2 separate regions of the Homo sapiens genome follow, and region 2 is linked to region 1. Evidence: promoter capture Hi-C in 16 types of primary human blood cells and fetal thymus (Javierre and others, 2016). All regions are on one chromosome and are shown on one strand. The core of a region is centred on a gene start or on the middle of the fragment in contact, and the rest is flanking DNA. Distances in the headings are between cores, read along the strand shown.

What was found. The method cuts DNA at HindIII sites, captures the fragments that hold promoters and counts their contacts. A CHiCAGO score of 5 or more calls a contact.
Region 2: a contact is called between a fragment that was not itself captured here and the fragment with the promoter of ABTB2 in region 1, in 1 of 17 cell types (M0 macrophages). The highest score is 5.3, in M0 macrophages.

What each region holds. Positions count from the first base shown.
Region 1 is chr11:34,356,481-34,359,262 of GRCh38, forward strand. ABTB2 (ankyrin repeat and BTB domain containing 2) reads right to left here and starts at 1,530. Exons shown (of 17, transcript NM_145804.3): 1 at 221-1,530. The coding sequence starts at 1,103. RefSeq lists an enhancer at 456-565 and a silencer at 1,516-1,715. The HindIII fragment of the contact is 9,392 bases long and covers 1-2,782 here.
Region 2 is chr11:34,209,175-34,212,162 of GRCh38, forward strand. All of the region lies in intron 1 of ABTB2 (ankyrin repeat and BTB domain containing 2), which reads right to left. Among named protein-coding and RNA genes, the nearest start is that of NAT10, 110 kb to the left of the region's middle. The HindIII fragment of the contact is 334 bases long and covers 1,337-1,670 here.

The DNA of each region.
Region 1 (2,782 bases), core at 280-2,779:
ACAGGATGGAGATCATTCACAAGTTTACCCTCCAAAAGTCAGACACCCTTAGAACAATCTCTGGCAAGTGCCATGTAATGAACCCTATCCTCAGACCAAACGTTTTCTCCCAAAGAACTGGCACAGCCACCAGCTTTGTCTCAGGAAATTCACTCCCCCAGTAGCCCAGGGCGGGATTTCTTGCCTACCCAGTCTGCCAGTCCGAGGCCCGCGCGCTTACCATTGGCGTTCTTGCCGCAGATGAGATGCTCATAGGGCTGCAAGACGCCCCAGAGCTCGGCGTCGTTGTTGATGACCATCTCCAGGGCCTCAGCAGACACCTCCCCGCCTCCGGCCCCTCCGCCATCAGGGCTGTGGCTGGCCATCACCCTGGCCCGGATCTCCTCCACCAGGTTCTCCATGCAGGCGGTGAGGGAGATGGCTGCGTACTCGTGGATGCGCACGGAGATTCGGGTGTCCACCATCCAGCGGAAAAAGCGACCCACTGAGAAGGTGAGGCCGCAGCGCGCGGACTTGCCCCGGCGCAGCCCGTCGCCGGCGCTCATGCTGTACAGGGACAGCGCCTTGACGGCTGCCAGCGCGCAGCTCTCGGCCAGCGCCCAGCTGTGCACCAGGCGCACGGCGCTCTGCACCTCAAAGCGGGTGCACTTGGCGTGCAGCACGCTCAGGCGCTGCGCCTCGCGGGCCACGCGGATCAGTGCCCTGCGGAGCAGCCCGGCCAGGCGCCTCACCGCCTCGGCGGAGAACTGGGGCAGCCGCCGGCCGCCAGCGCCTTTGCGGAGCACCCGGGCCACGTCTCCTTCGGTCCAGGGGAACTCCTCCAGCTCGGGGAGCCGCGGACAGCGCGAGAAGAGGTCGGCCACTTCGGGGTCCTCGGGCAGCACCGTGTTCACCGTGTCCCAGCTGTTGTGGCGGCTGTTCATGGAGCCGGAGTAGCACCACCAGGCCGCCCCGCGGTGCTGCTGCGCCGAAGAGTTGAGCGCCTGCGAGTTGGACTTGGAGGACGAGAGGCTGAGCGAGCGGCACGAGTCCCCGGCCCCATACCCGGAGTCCAAGGTCAAGTCCTCCAGCGTCTTCAGAGTCGAGCTGTACGTCCCGGCCATGGGGAGCCTGCCGAGGGCGGCGTCGCCGAGCGAGGGGCACTCACAACTCCATGCCCTCTTTCCCAAGTGGGCAGAAACAAGCTCTAGGCCCTCCGGGCCACCCTCCTTCCTCTCTGCGTCGCGGGGCTCGGCGGCCGCATTGCCTGCCCGGAGGCCGCGGGAAGGTGGCCGAGATCCGTGGCCAGCAGGAGCCCCACGCTCCCGGCGTCCCGACTCGCAGCTGCCACTGGAAAGAACCCCGTCGCTACCCCCCGGCACTCCCCCTTGTCCACCTCTAATTCCCACAAGCAGAGAGTCAGTCCTCCACAGAGAAGGAATCCCGGGAGAACAGGGCGGCGGCGGCAGAAGGAGGAGGCGGCGGCGCAGGGCGCAGGGCGCAGCGCGAGTCCGGGACCAGCCGGCGAGAAAGCGCTCTGCAAACTTCTGCGCTGCGCCGGCCGGCAGCACAGCTGGGTACCCGGCTGCGTCCGACATGCAAATAACCCCGGGCGGCTTACCAATCACCGGCCGCGATGGGCGGGGCTGCACCAATGATCTCCGAGGGGGCGGTCACTATGCAGATTTCACTCTGCCTCGGGTTAAACCCCGCGGCGAAGGAGGCGGGGCTGGAGGCCGAGGGTCGGGCACGCGGCTGGGATGGGGGTGGGGATGGGGGGGGATGGGGGGGATGGGGGGGTGGGGGAAGGGCGAGCCAGCCAACTGGGAGGTGGAGGTGGAGACCGGAAAGCAGCGGTCGAAACGATAGCTCCGGAGCTCACGATTTAAAGAAAAATGCAAAGGAAAAGCTACAGGGCGCTGCCACCTTCCCGCCACCCAGGCTTTGGGCGTTCGCTGCTCGCTTTCGAGCCCTCCGCAGCCAGGCGTCCTGGGGTTGGGGCCAGGAGAATGGGGAGGGCCCCATCCAGGCGCTCCACCTCTCCTCCACCTTCCGCCAGGCCCCTCCCGCAATCCGAGATGAAACGCTGGCTGTGTTTGGAGGGAGGAGGGAGTCCCTGCCTCTCTTTCCAAGTCCGTCTGGTTCCTTTGCGCTGCCGTCTAGGCTCCAATAAGGACAGAATTTCTTAACCTGGTATCTGATCAATGGACGGGCCCCAGGAAGCCTGTGAGTGCCTCCGCCCATTTGTGGTTTCACCTGCAGTTTTCTGAGTGCCACTATGGGGAAGGGGCACCAACTTTTGTCAGATTCTCAAGAGGATCCGTGACTTCCCTGTTACCTCTGTGTGACGATACCACTTGCTGTCAGGTGGGTCCTTTTTGTCCGAGATAGACAGTGTTCTTACAGGAAGAATGAGAAGAAGGTGGCAGAGCAGTCCCTCGCCCTGGGCTGAGCTCGGAACACCTAGCTGGATGCAGGTGTTCGCCTCCTAACGCGTGCCGGTGGGCGAGCCGTATGCCCCCGCGGGACCCAGTTCCTCCGGGGTACAATGAGTGGCTGACCTCCAGGCAGCGCCAGTGCCAACCTGCCTCCGGGCGGGTGTCCCAAACGGTCCGCCAGAGCGCTGTTGGTTCAGCAGTCCCATGCCCGGTGCAGGCATGTCCCGCCGCTGCCCTGTGGCTACTCACACGCACGTGCGCAAACGGACCTGTGCCCCCTCCAGTGGAACCGCAGGCTCAAGGCGGGGATTGTGCATTCGCTCTCCCCAAGTCAGCCTCCCCCACTCCTGAATGGCTCCTTTGTG
Region 2 (2,988 bases), core at 254-2,753, 150 kb before region 1:
ATCTCTACTAAAAATACAAAAATTAGCCGGGCATGGTGGTGCACACCTGTAATCCCAGCTACTCAGGAGGCTGAGGTGAGGGAGAATTACTTGAACCTGGTGGAGGTTGCAGTGATGAGAACGTGCCACTGCACTCCAGCCTGGGCAACAGAGTGAGCCTCTGTCTCCAAAAAAAAACTTTTTTTTTCCCCCAGAAAAGAGAATAGATAACGTCCTTCTCTGCTTTTTGAAATTTAGGGAGGAGAGTAATTCTGCCAGTAAACTGGAAAATTTCCCAGCACCTCCCAAGATATCAGCAGAGTTAGGAACCCTGTGCACACCTGATCCTCGCTTCTCTAAGCTACTTTTCACTCTGCTCTGCTCTAGCCCAGAGGGGTGATGGTAGGGGTGGAGGGTAGGCGTGGGGGTGAGGATGGGGGTGAGGGGGAGGGGTAGGGGTGGGGGTGAGGGGTAGGGGTGGGGGTGAGGGAAAGGGTTGGGGGTGAGGGTGAGGGGTAGGGGTGAGGGGTAGGGGTGGGGGTGAGGGGTAGGGGTGGAGGTGAGAGGTTGGGGGGTCAGGGGTGGGGGTGGGGGTAGGGGTGGGGGTAGGGTGGGGGTGGAGGGTAGGGGTGGGGGTAGGGGTGGGGGTGGAGAGTAGAGGTGGGGGTGAGGATGGGGTGAGGGGTTGGGGTGGGGGTGGGGGTGAGGGATGGGGGTGAGGGGTAGTGGTAGGAGTAGGGTCAATGGTAGGGGTATGGGTGGAACTCTGGAGGACAGCAGCCTGCTTCTTTCCTAAGTGATTCTCCACCAGGGCCCAGAGAGGGTGCCACTGAGTTAGAAGGGAAACCCAGTTCTCAGAAGACTGGGAAGCCGCCTTCTTGCCAGTTGCCAACCGGGACGTGAGCTGAGTTTTAGCTTGCAGAGGCGCTGTCTCTTCCAAGCTGACGGAAGCTGGTGGACTGCACTTTGGGATGACAAGCCAGACTTCTAAAGGGTTTTTAGAAGCAGGGCTTAGGCCAAAGGCCAAATTGATGGGGATTTCATTCCCTTCTCTGTAAACCACGGGGGTGGAATCTATGGCTTCTCAAGTCCTCCCAGCACTGGGATTCTAGACTCTGACCCCTATGTGTGCGACAGCACTCAGGTGCACCCCTGAAATCCTTTTTATCCCTTCTCATTCCACCATTTAACTTGTGAATTGTCAACAGTGGGAACACAGAGACCTTGTTTTTACTATTTCCTATGGTTTAATTTCCTCCAGAGCTATAACACCACCACTTTCCCCCATATACACACACACAACTTTAAATGTAAAAAAGATGTCCTTTCTGTGTAAAACTGGATAGGTTTATAGTGAAGCTTTATCTGACCATTCATCAAAAAGCCACCAAGACTGTAACATAACTGTCCTCCAAACTCAGCAACCATTACGAGCGCTCTCCCCAGACTTGTAAATGTTCTTTCTGGGCAATGGGACAGTGAGTGTGGTACCATTTCTGCACCTGCCACCAACGGCCCCACTAGCCCACCAGCTACCCGGCTCAGGGAAGCTCATGGCCAAGGCAGCCAAGGCCACCGCCTGTCCCTAGTTTCTTTGAAAGGAAAACCAGAGGGCAGAGGATTACTCCTTTACTGCACTCGCAAGGAAACTTGGCAGGGCGTCTTCTGCCAGCCTTCTTAGGTGCGCGGGAAGCTTGGGTGGGGTGCAATCCATAAGCTTCTGAAAATAAAAATTATACTGCCCCACTGAACGGTTTCCAAATAGCCCAGATAAGCCAACCCCTTTTTAAAATTTTTTTATTTTTAAGTGTTTCCATTCTCTGATCTGGAATTTTATATATAGTACATTTAATGCCCAGTTGTTATATATTAGTCATGCCAGAACAAAGTGTAGAAAAGTTGAAGCATGAATAGTTTTCAGGGAGACCCAAATAGAGTGTAAGGACAGTCAATTCATTCTTTTTGTTTGTTTTGAGACGAGGTTTTATTCTGTCACCCAAGCTGGAGTGCAGTAATGGGATTACAGCTCACTACAGCTTCAACCTTCGGGGCTCAAGCAATCCTCCCATCTCTGCCTCCTGAGTAGCTGGGGTACAGGGGCACACTGCCGTGTCCAGCTAATTTTTGTATTTTTTGGAGAGATGGAGTTTTTGTCATCTTTTCCAGGCGGGTCTAGAACTCCTGGGCTCAAGCAATCTGCCCGCCTCAGCTTCCCAAATTTGCTGGGATTATAGGTGTGAGCCACCATGCCCAGCCAGGACAGTCAATTCTTTAAAAAAGCCCCCAAACCCTTCACTGAATAGTATTCCACATGACATTCTAAGTTCAGAGAGGCTGGGGGGATGGGTGTTGAGACAAGAGCAAGATGAGGGAAATAAGAGGAAAAACCTGAAGTGGAATGGAATATGCCCCAGGAGCTGTCAATCATCCATGTAAAGTGATTCATCAGGAATAATCAAGCCAGGCGTGGTGGCTCACACCTGTAATCCCAGCACTTTGGGAGGCCAAGGCAGGAGGATCACTTGAGATCAGGCATTCGAGACCAGCCTGTCCAACATGGTGAAAATACAAAAATTACTACAAAAATTAGTCAGGCATGGTGGTGCACACCTGTAATCCCAGCTACTCAGGAGGCTGAGGCAGGAGAATTGCTTGAAACTGGGAGGCAGAGGTTGCAGTGAGCCGAGATTGCACCACTGCACTCCAGCCTGGGCGACACAGCCTGGGTGACAGAGTGAGACCCTGTCTCAAAAAAAAAAAAAAAAAAAAAAGGATAATCAAAAAGTCATCTAATACTTGGGCAAAACCCATCTCAAGACGTGACCATGATACTGTGAGGCCCAAAAATTCAAATGGGGAGAAAATGCTGGGAGACAGGAGAGATAAGGGGAAGTTTGAGAAGCAGGTTTTATTTATTTATTGAGACAGGGCCTTACTCTGTCATTCAGGCTGGAGTGCAGTGGCGCAATCTCAGCTCACTGCAACCTCCTCCTCCCAGGTTCAAGCAAT